5 separate regions of the Homo sapiens genome follow, and all the other regions are linked to region 5. The links are contacts of gene promoters, found by promoter capture Hi-C in blood cells and fetal thymus (Javierre and others, 2016). All regions are on one chromosome and are shown on one strand. Each heading gives the region's core, a stretch centred on a gene start or on the middle of the fragment in contact. The rest is flanking DNA. Distances are from core to core; before and after follow the strand shown. Region 1 overlaps ATP8A2 (ATPase phospholipid transporting 8A2). Region 2 overlaps ATP8A2 (ATPase phospholipid transporting 8A2). Region 3 overlaps ATP8A2 (ATPase phospholipid transporting 8A2). Region 4 overlaps ATP8A2 (ATPase phospholipid transporting 8A2). Region 5 holds the start of SHISA2 (shisa family member 2).

Region 1 (3,871 bases), core at 531-3,030, 300 kb before region 5:
TGACCTCATCCAAGGGTTTTTAAATTATTTTCTAAGGGAGGGTGTCACTGTCTTTGGAAAGATCTAAAATAGCAAATTTTTGTTTTCCTGTATACATATAAGAAAACTGGAAGGAGGGATCAGTAGAAACTTAGGTCTACCTTAGCTACAATTCATTTATTTATTCAGTAGCAATAATAGAGGATTCGTGCCTGTTAGAGCCATAGCGCTTGAGCAGGCAAACAGGCCTCATCTGCCGTGCTCCTTGGGCTCTCATCTTCATAAGGAGGACAGTATTGTGGGAAGGTTAGTAGCGAAGTCAGTTTTCAGTGTCGCATTTCCAAATTTTTGTGGTCTTTCCACATAAGAGTTTGAAAATATAAAGGGCTTCAATTCGAACTGTTTGGCAGATGTAGCAAAAGGTATCCTGTGGGTCCTTTTATTCATGTTTGTTTCATGTCTTCCACATACCTGATAACTCTTACAGAACAGTACGTGCTGGAGTGGAGGAGGTAAGCTCAGTCATGGAGGAGGGGTTAGACACGTGGAGGTGTGCTTAAGTAGACCAAAAGCTCTGCAAGGGGTTTAGCATCGCCTGGGGATACAATGCGTGGGGAGGGGTTTGTTTAGGGAAGAATTTCAGGATGTCAGGATGTGTGCTTTATAGATAACAATTTCATTTAACCTTTAAAATCCCCCGAAGTATGGATCAGCTCCATTTTACAGATTAGGACAGAGTTGCAGTGAGTAGCCCAAAGACATGCCAACACATTGACTAAAATAACATTGAATCACCAAGAAATGTTCTTCAGGGATGTAAAATGCACCAAGTTTGACTTTCCTAAGCTGACGTTTTTAGCTGGCTTTGTTCAGATATTTTTCTACAAGTATATAAGTTTTGTTTTATTACAAAGACATTTATTGGGTTTTAAAAATTCATTCAGCCAATCATTCAGAAAATCTATAAGGGTTAACTACTGACATTTGTAGTTCATTCTGATTTAGGAATCACCATATGGTTTAAATTCCAATTTGAGAAAAAAATTACTAAGTAGAGATATATTTGTATCATCATATTTGTTTAAGCTCTGGGTTTCCAAAACAGTGTATATAGATAGTATTGGACATTGTGAATGGGCTAGTTTAAATTAAGAACAATTTCACTCATAGCAGAAAAATTATTTTTCGATGAAAGGAGATGATAGGATTTTCCCCCCATGCTGTTTCATGTTGAAGATATTTCAGCAAATTGGTCAGAGTTCTGCCAAAGTATTTTGAATGTTCTTTAGAAGTGTTTGGAATGACCTGATTTTTCTCCTCAGGACACATCTGAATTTTCTTAGGCTTTTGGAACTCTTTTTTTGTTTTAAATGTTACATAAGCTCTTTGGTTCGAGCATTGAATGACATGTTATGACATTTAAGGGGAAAAAATTTTATAAGCATTAATCAATGTAAGATATTTGTTGCTTTTTCATTCGACCCCATCCAGCTTTCATCCTGATGCACACCATACTGGAGGCATGGCTGCTTGTTTAATTGTTTAGTGCAGAACGCGGTTTGATCTCTTTCTTGTGCTTTCAGTGCTGGTAAATTAATCAAAAGAAGTTACTGCTCTGCTGGGCATTAGCATGGGTTTAGATGTTTCTGCTTCAGGGCCTGTTCATCAACTAAAATGCTTTTAAGCCCCAAATGGAGAGTAAACAGCGTTGCTGCGGCCACTTTGAGGTGAGCCATTACTTGTGACCCGCTTACATTTGGGAAGGGGCCTGTTTGTATTAGCAGTTATTCTGGTTTGGGTTATAGCATTTTCAAAATGTTTTTTCTCCTTTTTATTTTAGTGTTTTTAGTATTTGTAAAGAGTGCCCCCCATCACCACCATGTATATACACATAGGCATTTCAATAACAGTATGTGGAGATTAAAATCAGTGGACATTTCTATGAAGTTTGAAAGGTGAAATGTGTATCTTCACCATGGCTTGTAGTGAGAGGACAGTGAAATTATAATGCCAATTGAGATAGCAGATAGCAGAATAGTTTTGACTAACATGAAATTGTGGATCCTTAGGTTGTTTTTCTGTCTTCCGTGAAATAAAAGTTGACACTTTCTAACTCTTGGCAGCAGGTGGGCCAGGCATTTGGGAGGCACTGCAGACGCTGAAGAGAACAGACCTTTGCCTTGCAGGAATCAGTCCTTCCAGGAAGACAGGCCTGGAAATGGTGATTTCTGGGCATGGGCTGAGTATTCTGATGGGAAGAGAGTGGAGGAGGGGGAAGTGAAGCTGGCAGAGGGGAAGGAGGGCCTGACGGAGATGGGAGAAGCATCAGAGGACCCCGCCAGGAAGGAGACGACACTGGAGGTGGTCTTCAGGATAGAGCTGAAGTTAGCCGAGGGGAGTCCAGATGCGAGGGAGTTTGCGGTGCAGGTTTTGTCTGGAGAAAAGCAGAGCAGTGGGAATGTGGGTGAGGAGGGGGTGTAGGCAGCAGGGAATCATGACGCAGGCATTGTCACATCGATGTCAGAGCAGGAGGCTGTGCTCGGTGGGGGCAGTCAGAAAGCCCCTTGAGTGAGCAGCTACAGAGCTTAGGCTGTTCCTGGGGCAAGGGAGATGGGAGGAATTTAAGAAAGAGTGGGACAGCTTTGCCTTAGGAGCAGACCAAGGCTGCGGTGTAGACAGGCAGCAGCCAACTCATGTTCCTTCCGATTTTCTTTAAAACTGGAAAGGAAGTTAAAATGGGACATTCTGGTCACTATAGAGTAGAATGAATGCCTGATGATAACTGTCACATTGTCTCTTTAGTTTCTAATTGTTGACATCTAAGTTTGTTTTTAAAATAATTATTTGGCCAGGCATGGTGGCACGTACCACTAGTCCTGGCTACTAAGGAGGCTGAGATGGGGGATTGCTTCAGCCCAGGAGTTTGAGTCCAGCCTGGGCAACATAGCAAGACCACATCTCTAAAAAATAAAACAAAACAAAACAAAAAAACGAAGAAGAAGAATTATTTGCATGTATGTGAGCTCCTGTTTGTATACGAAACAACCAAGTTCATCTTTAGAAATCATCTGATTGTCTCAATATTTATTTACTTATTTGTGTCCCTCTAAAGCCACAGTAAGGAGAACTTCGGTGAAGTCCTCCCTGAAGGGTCACTGGTCCAGTTCGTGTGGAAGACAGGCCGGTGTCCAGAAAGCAGCTCCTGACCCAGGCAGAGCAGGCTGCATTTCTCAGAGTAGTCGCTAGAGTTTTCAGGAGACCAAATAAAATAGTACACATCTGTGTGTAGTTACCAAAGCCAGGAACACGGGCCCTAACTGTGGGCAGTTTCCCTCTGCTAGTGCCCCCTCTTCCTTGGTTACTCTCATCTGTCTCTAGTTTTGGGCCATACACTGTGCCCACCCCCACACTGAAGCAGCCTCCCTCCCCACAGCTATCCCCCCGATTCTGACTCCCACCTGCTTCCATGTTGCTCTGCCCGGCTCCCATTCCGAAGGCCGGTGGTTTCAGCCCAGCTTTGGGAGCACCGTAGATACTTTCAGTTCAGCAGGGCCCTTCGCCCCACCACGTGATGGGATTCTAGAAATGAGTGTGTTCCAGTAATAGGGAGGAAGTGTGGGGAGCCTGGGGGCCCTGTCGGCAGGTACCTCATATGTGTAGTTTTGGCATCGAGTTTATACGAGCACATGGGCATCAAAAAGCTTGCGAAGAAAAGTCCTCTTCTGCTCGATGTATACAAAACTTCTGTTTTGAAAGAGTTGCTTGGGGAAAAAAAAAAGGAATCTTTTTGGAATTACACGTGTAGTTCACTAAAGTATTCCTAGTGACAACATAGCCATGTTTAAAGCCTGAGATTGTGTTGTTCTCTGTCCAGGGTCCAACAGGGAACTGA
Region 2 (4,258 bases), core at 251-2,750, 260 kb before region 5:
ATTTTAGTGTTGATTTTGATGTACCAGAACCTAAATTGCTTAAATTAAAAACTTTTTAGAGCAGTGTGTAGAATTCTATTTGTGTCCGTGAGTATGGCTAATAACTCCATTTTAAGAACCAGAAAAGGAAATAAAATAAGTTAACCATCTCCCTTGAGCTGCAAAAGTTGCTAATCAAAAACTTCATGTAAACAATGTACCGATATCAGACTCTGGTTATGATCTGTATACATTTAGTGTGCAATTCAAGTATAAAGGCTTTCATTTTTTGGCAGCCCAGATGCAAACAATAAAATAATCCTGCTTATTTCCTCTCAGCAGCAGGTTTTGTCATCCATATGTAACTGACCGAACAGTGTTTAGCCACAAACAGAAAACACTTTCTGCAGGTGGTTAGTTGTCTTTAATATGTCTCATCAAGCCTATCTGTGTGCTTCTGTGTGGGCTGCTGTGCTCTTCAAGGCCTAGGTCAAGTGCCTTGGCCAGTTAGTGGTTAGATAATTAATAGAGACTCACTAAGTATGTATTATTTACCGACTACCACTTTCCTGATTGCTTTGAAACTAATGAAATGAACAAAAAATGTAATTATGGTCCTTGAGGGAATTTATGATCTAGTTAGAAGGGTTAGGAAATACTTTGGGCCCAGACACAGTGGCTCACACCTGTAATCCCAGCTCTTTGGGAGGCTGAGGCAGGAGGATTGCTTCAGCCTAGGCGTTCAAGAGCAGTGTTGGCAACAAAGTGAGACCTCATCTCTACAAAAACTAAAAGAAAGAAAAAAAATAGCCGGGGGTGGTGGTATGGGCCTGTAGTCCTAGCTAGCTCCTTGGGAGGCTGAGGCAGGAAGACTGATTAAGCTCATGAGGTCGAGGCTGCAGTGAGCTATGATCACAGCACAACAATGAGACCCTGTCTCAAAAAAAAGAAAAGAAAAAGAGAGAGAGAGAAAGAAGAAAGGAAGGAAAGAAGGAAGGAAGGAGAGGGGAGGAGAGGAGAGGAGGGATAGGGGAGAGAGGGGAGGGCAGGAGAGAAGAGAGGAGAAGAGAGGAGAAGAGAAGAGAAGAGAAGAGCAAAACTTTGGAATTGTTTCATAGGAGTGGTACCTTTTCCCACACTGACTGTAAAAAGTTCAGAGAAACAAAGGGATTTTCACAGCAGTGCTTGCAATTCCAACATCTGCCTTGTGACTTTCAATTTTGAGTTAATATTTGAAACTGTCTTCGTTGCCTGCATAAAGTGATCAAGTGACCATCAGTACAAAGACTTTTTCACATACCTGTTTTAATTGCTCTGGAGAATGCCTGATTCTCTGAGTTATTGCCTAGAGGTTTTCAGAGTAAATTACAAGAGTACTACATAGACTTTATATTAAGTCGGGTCACCCCAAATATTTTATGAAAACCTGCCCAGCCATTTCTACATGACATGGTAACAAGCATAGAGATGAAAATTTTATTTATCTAGATTAGGCAAAATTCTCCTATACGCTATGTTTAATGCCATGGGTTGTCTATATTTTATCTTTATATTGTGCAAATGTGTGTATGTGTATTATACACACATGTATGTAGAAGTACATATGTGTGCACATATATGTGTATAATTGTATGTACACAAGTACATACATACAAATACTACATGTACTATCAGGCTTTCTCAGGGGAGACTTAGTGTTTTTTTTTATCTTTACTGGAAAAAACTGTTGTTGGTAATAGCAAAGACATTTTGTGTTAGCCATTAACGAGATAGCAGAGAAATCCTTTGCTATCTAATATGTCACGGTGAAGGCCACTGGTATGAGCTTATGTTGAAATTCAGGATTTTTCTGATGTCATGAGTGTACTCAGGTGACCACATTTTGAATCTTTTTACTTTTAAAAACAATTCCCCACCCCAGTTCTTTAGCTGAGATTGTCATTTGAAGACGTGTGCCCTGTTCATCCAGTTGCACATGACCAGAAGGCCCTGGAGAATGGTTTAAGCCATTTTGAAGAGCACAGACATGGGGGAGAAGGAGGTAATCGTCATCAATACATCATCCCTACCTCTTTCAAACTTCTGTATATTTTTCGTACTTGGTTGGTTTGTTTTTGAGATGGGGAGAAGACAGAGGGAGGACAGAGGCTCTCAAGGAGTTTGTGAGTTTAGAGCTGGCCTGATGGCCATGAGCAGCATGTTTTCCATCTTGAAGAAAGAAGAGGTGGGAATTCAGAATGGTGCAGCTGCCTTGGTAAAACCTTACGGTGGCTTTATTTCTACTTACCAAATACTAGAAACAACCTATATGTCCCTTGACTGAGAAGTGGATAACTGTGCAGTATACCTATGCAGTGGAATATTACTTAGCAACAAAAAGGAGCAATACACAGAATACAGTGCTTTGCTGTGCAAATGCATTGTGCTACATGAAAGAACCCAGACTCAAAAATGACACCCTTTCGTATGATTTTGTATAAATGCATGATTCCACTTATTTGACATTCTGAAAAAGACAAAAACTGTGGGGACCAAAATTAGATCTGTGGTTTCCAGGGTCTTTGGGTGGAGGAAAAGGGTGACTACAAAGGAGCACAAAGGGTTTGGGAGAGTGACAGAAATACTCGGTGTCTTGATTATGGTGGTTACACAAGGGTGCGCAGTTATCAAAACTCACAACTGTACATTAAAAAGGATGAATAATTATTGTATGCAAACTATATCTAAAAATAAATAAGAAACAGATATATATATTCCAGTAATTGCTTCTTGGTATTTGAATCAGGCCAAGGATAACATCTATCAGAAAGGTCTTTTATTGATATTGAAATTCTGCCCCAACGCATTCCCTCTCCTACACACACACACACACACACACACACACACACACACACACCTTCTCTCTCTCTCTGCCTGCCCCCACCATCTCATATTTTCTTGTAATCATTTTTATGGGATTTATAGGATGTCCAGCTCATGCACAAGTGTCAGCCTCTTGTTTGTAATCTCGGTAGCTCAGCCTCCCGAGAGTGATCCAGCCATCCATGACTGAGTTTTGATTCAAGAAACAGGACTGTGATCAAGATATTAATTCTATGCATTATAAACCAGGGAACAGTTGGAAAAAAACTAAAGCTTAGTCTCCTTTAAGACTGGAAAAGTTGTACTTTATATATGCATATGTGAATAGTAGCAGGGAATTTTCTTGCATTCAATTTTCTCATTCCTGAGAGGTTAGATGGTTCAAATGTGCTGGGGCAGGGAGGGATTTTCACTCGGCTGTCAGAGCTTCATATCCCTCACTATTTTTGAGTTTTAAGAAGATATTTAAAATGCTTATGTTTCTATACATTACATTAACTTTTAAATATGAATATTATAGTAAATAATAAATCATAATTCACAAGTGCAAAGACCTTCTGTGCCCATGTTTAGCATATTTGGTCGATTTCTTTTCCATGGCACTCAATGACAGCTGAAGAAATTTCTTTAGGATGACAGATTGTCAGCACATTGACATAGATTGTTTTAGATGTATATTTTTAGTGGGAATGAATGAAATTTAAGTGAGCTTTTCTCAGAAATATAGTAATAAGGAGAAGAGTTGCTATTTCATGTGTCAAGCTTACAGGACTTTTTTCCCCCTCTTTGGGTTATAGTCAACCTAATTAGCAATTATTAACAAGTATCTTACAAAATAAAAAGAAAATTTGGAATTTGCTGAAAGCATCCTAACATCTACTAGAATAGCGCTATTGATAAGTAGTAAAGAAATTTATCTCAAATCTCCCTTGCCCAAGATAGAGAAAAATTAATTAAGAATACTCTAGAATTTTTTTCTGGTCCTTTATTGAACTTCATTACTTAATTAGTCCTTAGAGAGAAGAACCATCAAAACTTGGTAGGTGGTGACAGCATTTTTTTACATTTATCTGTGAGATGGAACTAGAATATGGAGTTCACAGGACAGCATTTCACTAACATATCTTTTTTTTTTTTTTAAAAGACAGGGTCTTGCTCTGTCACCCAGGCTGGAGTGCAGTAGCACGATCTTGGCTCACTGCAACCTCCACCTCCCAGGTTCAAGCAATTCTCCTGCCTCTGCCTCCCTAGTAGCTGGGATTACAAGCACCTGCCACCATACCCAGCTAATTTTTGTATTTATAGTAGAGACAGGGTTTCTTCATGTTGGCCAGGCTGGTCTCAAACTCTGACCTCAGGTGATCTGCCTACTTTGGCCTCCGAAAGTGCTGGGATTACAGGCACGAGCCACCGCGCC
Region 3 (4,212 bases), core at 922-3,421, 340 kb before region 5:
AGCAAAGATAAGTTATTTCATTTGATAAAAGCAAAAGTAAGAATTATCCTCATGGAACTAAAACCCTGTTATATTTAGTTTACTATACCATGTCTTCCATTAAAACTATCCTGAGATTAACTTGATTTATCTTGTCTCAGTTTAAGTTTAGCAATTTAATCCCTAAAAATGTAGATAGTGCTCATTGTATAGAATTCTCCCCTTTCCCAAAATGATGTACGCTTCTCTTTTACTAAATTCTCAACTTTGTTAGCCCACTCCATATTTCAGTCTTGCTGTAAGTTTTAGAAAGCAGAAATCGCATCTTCTATTTCTAACTTGAAAGGCATTTTTTACAACTCTGTGTAACAAATGTCATCGTTCCCACTACGTCTGTTTTTTTCTGATAGGGCTAAGAGGCAAGTTTTATTGATTTAGAATTTTTCACCAGTTTATATGCATTATGCTCTTCAAACTTGCTTTTATGTGTGCATGAAAGGATATTGATTTAGAACAAATTTATATTAGCCCACTTTTCAAAACCCTGCAGCCAATCAGCATTATTTTTGGTGCTACAGCTTTCATGTAGACGTTCTGCAGGAAAAAACCAGAAAGCTCTCATTGCCTTGTACCGAGATTCTCAGTCAGGAGTCTAGAAAAGTCTTTCTTGAATCTAGTAGTTAGTGATTCATAAGTTTTTGTTGTTTATAACTTAGTACTTTTTTCTGAGGCGATTCTAGTCAATTCACAAGTCTCCTAAGGATTATTTCAAATGCAGGTCACTTCGTGTTCTTGAGATGACTTTGAAATCCATCTGTGTGTGTGCTGAATGAATATTGAGCATATGTGTCGCAAATATGTTTCCTGACAAACAACGTGCCATGTTCTGGGTCCTGGGGAGCTAGCAGCTCCCCAGGGTAGCTAGCAGCTACCGTGGTGGACAAGATCAGCACAGCCCAGCACAACCCCTGCCTCTGTGAGACTCAGGGCCTGGGAGAAGAGCTGGCCAGTAAAAATTACGTAGACTGTACAGTTATGAATTAGATGCTTGGTCTCTTGTATTTCAGCAATTAGATGCCTTTGATCTTAGGTACGTTGAATTCTTAAATTTATTAGCTTCTCTAATGCTGTAGGCTGATATAGATTTCTGTGGCTATCCTTAACTATCAGCTTTGATTAACCCAGAGTTTGGTGTTCAAAAAGAAGCTGTATCCCTCTGCTAAAAGAAAGAAAGGAAGGAAGGAAGGAAGGAAGGAGGGAGGGAAGGAAGAAAGGAAGAAAACCTTCTGGTGACCTCTCAGAATTAAATTTAAAAACCTAGTGGGATGCTGCTTCTCCCTTGCTTTCTGTGTCCCGGCCACATTGGACTCCTTTCTGTTCCTTTGGCTCTCAAAGCAGGCTTTGCCCCAGGACTATAACAGGATTTTGCCCCACTGACACATGGCAAACTCACCTGATTCAGGTCTTTGCTCAAATGTCACCCTCTCAGCTCAAGGCAGGGTACCTTGAGTACTCTGGCTCTGTTAGTGCCACTTTCCATAGCTTTATTTTGCTTGATAGCATTTACCACTACCTGACATACTATTATACTTTTGCCTAATTATTGATAATCTGTCTCCACCCAACAGAATGTTTGTTTCATTAGAGCAGAGATTGTGTCTCCTTAGCCTTCTCTTCCATCCTCAGCACTGGAAATGACACGAGACACGTAATGAACACTCAATAAATATTGGTGAATGAATGAATGATGTGATAGGCTAACCAAACCTTCACTTTCTTGGAGGCAGCCTACTCCCTTCTCATGACAGTTGCTGAAGTTATGCTGAGAACAGTGGTGATTGTAACTATGGAAAATGTTTAGGGTGTCAGGGTCAACTTTTTTCTCCTTTGGTTATTTGTCCAATGCAGGGCACCTGCTTAGCTACTTTTATCTCCATGTTCTTGGCTATCTACTTGTAGGAAATAGATACCCATGTAAGAGAATGCAAAAGTCTCTTGGAGGAACCAAGGAGCCTTATGTATCCAAGTTAGCATGTACTGAGTGCAGGGTGCTCTTAAGATCTCTGCTTGGACACTAGAAATAGAAAAAAATATGTATGAAGAAGTTTGGATAAATGCTTCATTTGAAAGTTATATACCTTAGTATTTGCTTTCCCATTCTCATGCCACTTATGAAGGGTGAAGTTGGCTTCATTGACAGCTAATACTGTTGAAGTCTATTGTAAAATCAGTTCATTAGGTTAGTGTCTATTGAGCAACTACTATGTGTATGTGTTGTGTTGGGAGTAGTGCAAGATGAGGCTGGAGGAGAAAACTGGGGCCGAATCACCCAGGTCTGCAAGTCTCATTGGAACTTGGACTTGCTCCTCAGTGCAATGTGAAACCTTTGAAAAATTTTAGCAAAGGAATGATGTGGTCAGATTTGTATTTTTAAAATAACAGCTTTATTGAAATATTAGCATACCATGTAATTCACACATTTGAAGTATACAATTCAATCAAATTAGTATACTCATACAGCAGTATAACTATCACTACTACATTCCATTTTAGAACATTTCATCATCCCCAAAAAGAAACCCTGTACCAATTAGTCATTCCCAATGTCTCTCCAGTTCCCCAGCCCAAGGCAACCACTTATTTACTTTCTGTCTCTATAGATTTACCTGTTCTGGACATTGCTTTGCAACTGGCTTTTCCCACTTACTGTAAAGTCTTCAAAGGGTCATTCATGTCGTAGCATTTCAATTCTTTTTATTGCCAAAAAATATTTCATTGTATAGATATATCACATGTAGTTTATTCATCACTTGGCGGATAGTTAGGTTGTTTTTACTTCTTGGCTACTATGAATTATACTTCTATAAACATTCATCTACAAATTTTTGTGTGGACATATGTTTTCATTTCTCTTGGGTATATACCTAGGAGTGGAATTGCTGGGGTATATGGTCACTCTATGGTTAACCTTCTAAAACAGAACTGCCAGACTGTTTTTCTAAGTGGCTACACCACTTTACATTTCATACATTACACCCCATACATTTCCACTAGCAATGTGTGAGGGTCCCAGTTCCACCACATCCTTGCCAAAACTTTCCTTTTTTAAGTCATAGCCATCCTAGTGGGTATAAAGTGGTATTTCACTGTGGTTTTGATTTGCATTTCCCTGATGATTAAAGATGTTGAACAACTTTTCATGTGTTTGTTAGCTACAAATAACCAGAATATCTTCCTTGGGAAATATCTGTTCAAATCCTTTGCCCGTTTTTAAATTGGGTTGCTTGTCTTTTATCACTGAGTTGTAGCAATTCTTTATATAGTCTTAATGTCAGTATCTTATCAGATACATGATTTGCAAAAAATTTTTTCTAATTCATTGGGCTGTCTTTTCACTTGATGGTATTGTTTGTAGCACAGAAATTTTAAATTTTGATGAAGCCCAGTTTATCTACTTTTTTTTGTTGTTGCTTATGGGGTCATATCTAAGAAGCCATTGTCTAATCTGAGATCATGAAGATTTACTCCTATGTTTTCCCTTACAAGTTTTATAGCTTGGCTCTTACCTGTAGTCTTTCATCTCCTTTTAGTTAGTTTTTGTATATGTTACAAGATAAAGGTCCAGTTTCATGCTTTTGCACATGGATATTCAGTTTTTCCAGCACCATTTGTTGAAGAGACAGTCTTTTCCTTTTTGAGTGGTCTTGGCCAGATGTATATTTTTAAAAGATCACTGTCAGCAGGGTGTGAAGGGTTTAAAGGAGTAGCGATGAGAATAGAAGTGGGGAGATCAATTTGAAAAATATTTATGTAGCTCTTATTACGTGTAAAACATTGTTCCAGGCACTGGAACTATGATCATAAACAAGTCAGACATAGCCCTGGCCTCATGGAGCTTACATTCTGGCACTGAGGATGAGGGATACAAACCTAACAGGAAAGAGGAAAAAGAAGCAAATGCAGTGATGACAAGTTGTGAGAGAAGAAACAGTGATGTGCAGTGTATAAGTTATAGGACTACTGAATATATAAAGCATGAATTGCTTATTTAGTTTTTTCCTTTAATTTCAAAGGGCCAAACATACCGACTCAGAGGCAGGTTGGCTAGAGTGGAGTTAGGAAAATACTCTTTCTGGAAAGAAAGGTGACTTTAATCATTGCTGCCTATACATGCCACTATCACCAGTGAGTCTTCACTTAATGTGCATATCCACCTGCTGGCAGCATTGCCAG
Region 4 (3,697 bases), core at 921-3,420, 320 kb before region 5:
GTCAGTTTACTGAATTGCCTTTACATGGCTATGACCTTGAATTGCTTCTGTTAGTTCCCCTGTGCTCTTCCACATTTTTTCATTTTAGGACTACAGGCTAAGCATACTTAGTTATTACCTTGTAATACACAATCAAGATAACCTGGCCTTGGTTTCTGTGACTGTATCTCAGCCTCCCTGTCCTCTGTCTCGCAGAGAACTAGGGAAGGATGGAAAGTGACTAAAGGTATGGAATGCCTGAGGCATGGCCAGGCCAGGTACTGTGGCACATATTTTCGTATGTTGTCTCATTTAACCCTGATTCATACCTTTTAGGACAGGTCATGATATTCCCATTTAACTGCGCTTTAAAGAAGTTGAATGTCCACTGGGTCACACTTGGAGGGTTTAAGATCTGGATTTGGGTCTGAGTCCAACCACGATGTCATTTATATGGACTGTGTCGCGACACGTGTGTCTTTTTCCTGGTTTGGTGTTGTTATTCCCCTGGCAAGGTGTGCATGAAGTCGGTCCTGCCCTACACCTGTTGGCTTGTTTTGTTTGACTTGTGTTTACACTCCTTTTTAAGATGACTTTGTTAAACTGAAAAAAAAAAGCTGAAATGTTGATCAGGTAGCAGATTTGCAGGAGACCTAGGTACTCATCACTCTAGCACTTCCTAAACTGTAGTTAAAGAAACATTGTTCGGGATGCTAAGTGTAACGTGGGGGAAAAAAATAGCTCTCTGTGCAAATAAATTTGTATAATTGTTAAATGTGATTGCTTTCCCTCTGAGTCTTTAATCTGATAATGTGCATTCTGCCAGAAGGGAATGTAGTATACTGCACCTCCCCAGCTTGTTTTTGTTCACATCTAACTTAATTTATTAGAAAGCAGCCTGGCGCAGTTGTGCATGCCTGTAATCCCAGGACTTTGGAGGCCGAGGTGGGCAGATTGCTTGAACCCAGGAGTTTGAGACCAGCGTGAACAATATGGTGTAACCCCATCTCTACAAAAAATACAAAAAATTAACCAGGCATGGTGCCGTGTGCCTGTGGTTCCAGCTACTCTGGAGGCTCAGTTGGGAGGATTGCCTGAACTCAGGTGGTTGAGGCTGCAAGTGAGCCGTGATCATGCCACTGCACTCCCGCCTGAGTGACAGAGTGAGACCCTGTCTCAACAACAACAACAACAAAATTATTAGAAAGCAAAAGTCTCTTTAAGACAGGTATGTCTTCAACTCTATCAAGTTGGCTTTTGTTTTGAAGAACAAAAGGGAATCATGGCTTGGCAGTTTCAGCTATGTGTGGGGACTACTTTCTATTACACTGGTCCTGCTTTTACCTCTGGTGTCTAAAATGTAATAAATATGTGAACTAGAGCTCATAGGGTAGCTTCAACTCTGCTTAGAGTTTATAGCTTCAAGTGGCATGATATCTGTCACACTCACAAGTAGTATCCATTGCTGATTTCTCTTTGTGGTTGAGCTTCTTTATTTTATTCTATATTCTTACTTTATAATTTTTCATGTATAATAGACCAAATGTGATTGCCATAAAGAAGGCCAAATGTAGAATCCATGCCCAGTTTGCTTATTCTGGAAAAGCTTACTATGTAAGCTGGGATTTGAGGAGTTCTTAGATTTTTATTATTGTTTGATTTTTTTTAAGGAAGGAATAGGCCAGGCATGAGTGGCTCACACCTGTAATCCTAGCACTTTGGGAGGCCAAGACAGGAGAATTACTTGAGACCAGGAGTTGGAGACCAGCCTGGGAAACAAAGTGAGACCTGTCTCTACAAAAACTCAAAAAATTAGCCAGGTTGGCGGCACATACCTGTGGTCCCAGCCGCACGAGAGACTGAGACAGGAGGATCACTTGAACCTGGGTTGTTGAAGCTGTAGTGAGCCATGTTCCTCCCACTACACTCCAGCCAGGTCGCAAAAAAGAAGGAGAGGGGAGGAAAAGAAAAGAAAGGAGAAAGAAAGAGAGAGAGAGGGAAAGGGAAAAGAAAAGAGAGAGAGAGAGAGAAATAAAAGAAAGAAAGAGAAAGAAGGAAGGAAAGAAAGAAAAGACCGGAAGGAGAGAGAAAGAGAGAAAGAGAAAGAAGAAAGAAGGAAAGAGAGAGAGAGGAAGGAAGGAAGGAAGGAAGCGGGAGGAAGAAAAAGAAAGAAAGAGAGAGAGAAAGAAAGAAAAGACCGGAAGGAGAGAGAAAGAGAGAAAGGGAAAGAAGAAAGAAGGAAAGAGAGAGAGGAAGGAAGGAAGAGGGAGGAAGAAAAAGGAAGAAAGAGAAAGAAAGAGAGAGGTGGGAATAAAGATAAGGATTAAAGCCATAACAATTAAAATATTGACCAATTGAACTCTCGTGCCTGCTATTTTTTCAATTCTCTTCCCAAACACTTTTGGCCAAAGAATGCTTTTTATTTGGGGTAAATGTTGTCCAGCCTTAAATTTTCATTTTTCTGGGTAAGGGTACTAAATCCTAGAGTGCTGATATACGATATTTAGGCCTCACCCCATTGGTAAGTGGAATGTGCCTGTTGATGTAATCAAATTCACAGAATGTGGAATATAACACCCTCTTGGTTAAAAAAATAAGCAGAGGGATTTCTGGCAGAATCCAACTAACACTCGCAGAAATGAAGCACATGAGGTGACGAATACAAATGGGTCACTTAGAACTAGGAAAATCCATTGTAACAGGGCACAGAACTTGTTCTTTTTAAGCAAGAGTCTTGCTAACATCCACATTTATTTCATTCATATTGAAGGTCTTCGAAAGCTTAAGCTCTGAAAATGGAAGTGGTTGATTTGAAGATGATAAATGGAAACTGGGAAATTAGACTGCTTCCATAGGTGGGCAGTGTGTCCTCTTTTTCAGGACTCCGGGGTCCCTGAATTGTGAGTTTTCCCTCACAGCCTCTCCACATTCTCTGTGCTGTTCACCTCCCACCCACTGCTCTGTCTTCCCTGTGTTAGTGAAAAATCAAGCTTTTCCCTCCCTAGCCCAGAGAGCTGAGCTTTTCCCTGCTTTACTACTGTGTTTAGGAAAAGGAGGCAGCTTTTTCCTAAAAAGCAGTGTTTGGAAGTTGGAGGCACGTATGATGCTTTCTGGGCTGTTATCTCCAATATCCTTGCTAGATGAGCAGCCTCGCATGTTGGGAAAGAATCTGTACCAGAATTCGGAATATGGGGCTTGTGGCCACGTAGCAATGAGGTCACTGACCAGCTACAATCCCTGGAGCAAACCATTCACACTGCAGTCCTCTGTTTCCTGCTGGTGATATTCGAGGTAGTGGCCATGTGAGCTCCAAGCTATGATTTGTTGTTGTTCTGAAATTCTATGTATTATTTAAATTATAATACCTCAGATAAATAAATGAAACATCTCCTGAATTTATTCTTAATATGTAATTCATGGCCAAGAATATTAACTGATGAAGTGAATCATTTAAAGAAGGACTTTGTAATTTTTCTGTGGGATTGTATTTCACCAGAAGTGCTTCAGTTCCGTTGAGTCCTGTGTGATGTACTTCAGCTTGTCTGTGAGCTGAGCTGGTCTAACACGCTAAGTGATAACAGAATGGATTCTGTGTTTTATGAGTCAGTCAGCCAGATCTCAAAGGGATAACAATTAGGAAAAATATATATAATTTATCCCAGTAAAAGAACTAGCCTATTGCTGAAAAAAAGTTGTACCCTGTATTATTGCTTTTTTT
Region 5 (3,731 bases), core at 1-2,500:
GCAGCTGCCGCAGCAGATGGTGGCGTCGCCGCCGTCGAAGCGCTCGGGACACTGGAAGCCGATGCGCCAGACGCCCTGCGCGTCCAGCCAGCCGTGGCAGTACTCGCCGCTGGCCCTCGCCCCCGCCGCCAGCAGCGCAGCCAGCAGCAGCTGCAGGAGCGAAGCGGCGTTCCAGGATGAGGAGACGGACGAGCGGCGAGCGCCCCACATGGCACCACCCTGGGCGCGGACAGCGCGTCTCCAGAGAGCGCAGGACGGTCTCCGAGAAGTCGTGGCCCCGGCGACCCCCGGGCCTCGTCACTGACTGTCCCGCGGCGCTTTCCGCGCGGGCCACTCCCCTCTGCCGCGACGCCCAGGAGGCGACGACGCCGGGCCCTAGGTCCAGGAGCTCCTAAGCCATCCCCGTCCTCAGCCGGTGGCCCGGTCCCCTTAGGGACTGCCTTATGAGTTGCACTCGCTGATGGAAATCTCGGGATGCAGTCAGAAGGCCCCCGGGGCTGTCGTCCGGAAGCCTCTGGAGGTTTCACTGGCAACCGGACCCTCCCTGAGCATCCCCGAAGGGATGCTCACTCGAGCCGAATGACCGCTGGGCGCGCCGCCGCGGACCTGGAGCCAGGGCTCTGCGCAGGGTTTAAGCCTCAGGGTCCCGCGCGCGAATCAGGGCCCGTCTCCCCTCCTTTATTCCCTCCTCGGGCGGGTAGAAGGGGCGAAGGCGGGCAGTGCACGCAAGGCTCTGGGCAGCAAGTGACGCAGCCGGCCGCGCTCAGCCTCCTCTGCCCCGAACTTGGTCCGCATGGCTCCGGCCGGGCCGCCCGGGCAGCCCACGGGGGTGCAGCCCCGACGCTCCACTCGGCGGGGCCGACGGCCAATCTTCCCAGCACGTCGCCGAGGGAGCGCTCCTGACCCCGGGAACGTCCAGGACGCAGGCGAGGGTCCTGCGCGCCCCCAGCCGCAGTCCCGGGAGCCTGCCCAGCTGGCGGCGGCCGCGGCTGCTGCTGGGCGCGGATCCAGGCGGGCGGCTCGCCCCGGTTCCCCTTCTCCGCCTCCCCGGCTGCAGCGCGGTCCCACAGGAGCCCGGCAGCCTCCGGCCGGCTCTCCCTCTCCCGGTCGCTGCCTCGCCCTCGGGAGGTGTGCGCACCGATGGAAGCCTCCCACGGAAGTTTCTTTCCTCCGGGCTACGGGAGAAGCCGAGCGCAGCAGCCGCCCACAGCCTCGCCTCGCCCCGCCCGGCGCCAGACCAGCTCCGACTCCGCTCGCTGCCGCGCTGAGCCGCGCTCTTATAGAGGCCGGCGGCTCCCCGGCGCGCATGCGCGCTGCGCGGCTCCCCCCCACCCCCGACCTCAGGGACGCCCGCGGGCGCCGGGCAGCCCCTCACTTTCCTACCCCGGGCAAGGAGAAAGGTGTGGCCAAGGGCGGGGTCTGCCTGCTGGAATAGGCGCGGGAGGAAACCCAACCTAAGCAATCCAGGCCTCGCTAACACAAATAACAATAATAACGGAAGAAACTCAACTTGCTTTGTGAAGATCTTTGGCATTCAACATTCGGTTCGATTCTGCAAACTTCTCAAGGGATTATGATTACTTTCCACTCTGCAGATCATAAAATCGCCACTCAGATGAACTCTCTCGGCTTCCAGCAGCTGATGTCCTGGCCACGGTTGGTCCCAGGCCCTGTGCAGGAAGAGCACCGATGTTTGTGGCAGGGTTCACACGCCTAGGGCTGTGTTTGGTGGACTGGAGGCCTCCACCACAAGGTGGAACGGAGAGAGTTCAGCAAAGATGTCACACATTCGGCCACGGTGTGGATGATCTGTGTCCCTTTTTCTTTCTATATTTGGGTGTGGTGATTTATCGGATTCCAGCAGGAAAGTGCCTCCGTCCAACATGTGGCCTTAGTGGTTTAGACAGCTGCAGTCAGGAAGAAAACAAGGTTCAGACAGACCAGAAATTCAGCTTTGATGAAGGAGAAATTAATAGCTTCTCTCTTGCAGAAGCTGGAACAACAGGTGCTGATGTTATTAAAGCAGCAGTGCTTATTTTTAAAGGAACGAATGCCCCTTCCCACACCGTCTGGGAGTCAGCAGACCTGAATTCTAGACCCAGCCCTACTAGCAGGGAATCACTGCGTTTTTCTGGTCTCAGTTTCTTCATCTATAAAGTGGAGCATAGGATGTGACGATCACTAAGGTCCCTTTCAAGTCCATGACTTCAGAACACAGGCAGTTTTATTCACAGCAAAGACACTCAGGTTCAAGCAGCCATTGGATGCTTGTGTATGCCTGGTTAATGTGAAGATTCAGACATTGTTGATTATTCTTCCACTTGCCCCAACAATGTCAAATCCAAGAAAAAAAACCCTACCCTATGTCCCTGCTCCCCAACACACACCTTATTCTTTTCACTAAACCTCTCTCCAAGCATTGCACTTTGTTTTCTTGCAGTTTTTTGGTTGTGTATCGTTTTAAGCTACACAAAATTATATACTTTAAATGCACTATTCACCAAATGTCTTAAGCTAGTAAGCTAAAAAAAATTTCAATGTCAAGAAATCATTCATTCAAGAAATACACGCCATGCACTTACAGTGTACTGTGCTCTGTGCTGGGTACTGGGACTCATCAAGAAGCCAGACAGCATGGCCATTTCCTTCAAATAGGGCCTAAAGTCTCCAGGGTAAAATACAGAAATCAGACAAAAAGACAAAGAACTGAATAAGCAAAGAGAATGCAAGTATGATCAAAGCTCTTACCCACAATGAGAACAGCATCAATTTAAGCACATAATCTAGGTTAGGGTGGGGAAGGAGGTCAGAAAAATCATCAAAGGAGTAACACTTAAAAAGAGACCAGAAGAAGCCAAGGGAAGATTGAGTTTTTCAGAATGAGTCATTTTCTTAGAAGACACCATTAGCCAACATTTATTGAGAGCTTACTATGGGCTAGGCACCACGCTAAGAATTTCATGTGCATGGTTTCATTTAATCCTCACATCAGCCCTATAAATAAGACAGTATTACTATCCTCATTTTACTGGTGAGGATACTTGCTCAATCCCTAAAGATAGAGAGCGTCGGTTTGCCTGGACTGCACCCAATTCTTCCTGACTCCAAACCCCACTCACCGCACTGCTGATCACCACAGCCGCCACTACAGAAAGCCCAGGATTGATTAACTGGGAGTCCTGTACAGATCATGAGATGCTCCTATGGCAGCACGAGTTGATTTGGGTAGTGTTCAGAGGGTGAATACTTTCAATTTTGCCATTTGGAAAAACAATTAATGCGAGAGAATTGTACTTATTGTTCTATTTAGAATTGTATTATTTCAGACAGTACCTATGCCTATAACCTCCTTCCAGGATCCACTTATCCTACTCACCAAAACATCCACAATTTGTCAGAGTTTATTTATGAAGAAAAAAAATTGTTTAACATTTCATATTGGAATTGATTTGGTGACTGGATAGTGCCACCTTTAAAACACAATGTTTTTGCCAAATAGTCTACAATTTAATCTATAATTGGTGAACTTAGAAGTATGGCGCTCTGAGCAAATTCGTCTTTTTTTTTTTTTTTAATTACTGTGTTTCTTTTCTTCCTTAAAAGTTAAGGAGAGGCCCTTTCATAGTTACTTTACGTAGTGGTTGACTGTCTTCAATGCTGAAAGGTCCTTTATGTCACTTTGTCTCTCTTGTATTATCGTTTCTTTGTGTATCTGGAATGTTGAACTGAAA

Evidence for each region. The method cuts DNA at HindIII sites, captures the fragments that hold promoters and counts their contacts. A CHiCAGO score of 5 or more calls a contact.
Region 1: a fragment that was not itself captured here is called in contact with the fragment with the promoter of SHISA2 in region 5 in 4 of 17 cell types (activated CD4 T cells, non-activated CD4 T cells, fetal thymus and 1 more); the score reaches 6.6 in activated CD4 T cells.
Region 2: a fragment that was not itself captured here is called in contact with the fragment with the promoter of SHISA2 in region 5 in 6 of 17 cell types (activated CD4 T cells, naive CD4 T cells, total CD4 T cells and 3 more); the score reaches 7.2 in activated CD4 T cells.
Region 3: a fragment that was not itself captured here is called in contact with the fragment with the promoter of SHISA2 in region 5 in 5 of 17 cell types (activated CD4 T cells, naive CD4 T cells, non-activated CD4 T cells and 2 more); the score reaches 9.2 in activated CD4 T cells.
Region 4: a fragment that was not itself captured here is called in contact with the fragment with the promoter of SHISA2 in region 5 in 7 of 17 cell types (activated CD4 T cells, fetal thymus, naive CD4 T cells and 4 more); the score reaches 11.3 in activated CD4 T cells.

What each region holds. Positions count from the first base shown.
Region 1 is chr13:25,747,055-25,750,925 of GRCh38, forward strand. All of the region lies in intron 25 of ATP8A2 (ATPase phospholipid transporting 8A2), which reads left to right. Among named protein-coding and RNA genes, the nearest start is that of SHISA2, 300 kb to the right of the region's middle. The HindIII fragment of the contact is 3,796 bases long and covers 1-3,678 here.
Region 2 is chr13:25,791,986-25,796,243 of GRCh38, forward strand. All of the region lies in intron 27 of ATP8A2 (ATPase phospholipid transporting 8A2), which reads left to right. Among named protein-coding and RNA genes, the nearest start is that of SHISA2, 260 kb to the right of the region's middle. The HindIII fragment of the contact is 3,224 bases long and covers 1-3,112 here.
Region 3 is chr13:25,712,914-25,717,125 of GRCh38, forward strand. The region is part of intron 25 of ATP8A2 (ATPase phospholipid transporting 8A2); the gene reads left to right. Among named protein-coding and RNA genes, the nearest start is that of SHISA2, 340 kb to the right of the region's middle. The HindIII fragment of the contact is 4,796 bases long and covers 1-4,212 here.
Region 4 is chr13:25,729,135-25,732,831 of GRCh38, forward strand. The region is part of intron 25 of ATP8A2 (ATPase phospholipid transporting 8A2); the gene reads left to right. Among named protein-coding and RNA genes, the nearest start is that of SHISA2, 320 kb to the right of the region's middle. The HindIII fragment of the contact is 1,175 bases long and covers 1,584-2,758 here.
Region 5 is chr13:26,050,766-26,054,496 of GRCh38, forward strand. It overlaps SHISA2 (shisa family member 2), which reads right to left and starts at 1,251. Exons shown (of 2, transcript NM_001007538.2): 1 at 1-1,251. The coding sequence starts at 210. It overlaps LINC00415 (long intergenic non-protein coding RNA 415), which reads right to left. Exons shown (of 2, transcript NR_146971.1): 2 at 1,511-1,907. The HindIII fragment of the contact is 15,847 bases long and covers 1-3,731 here.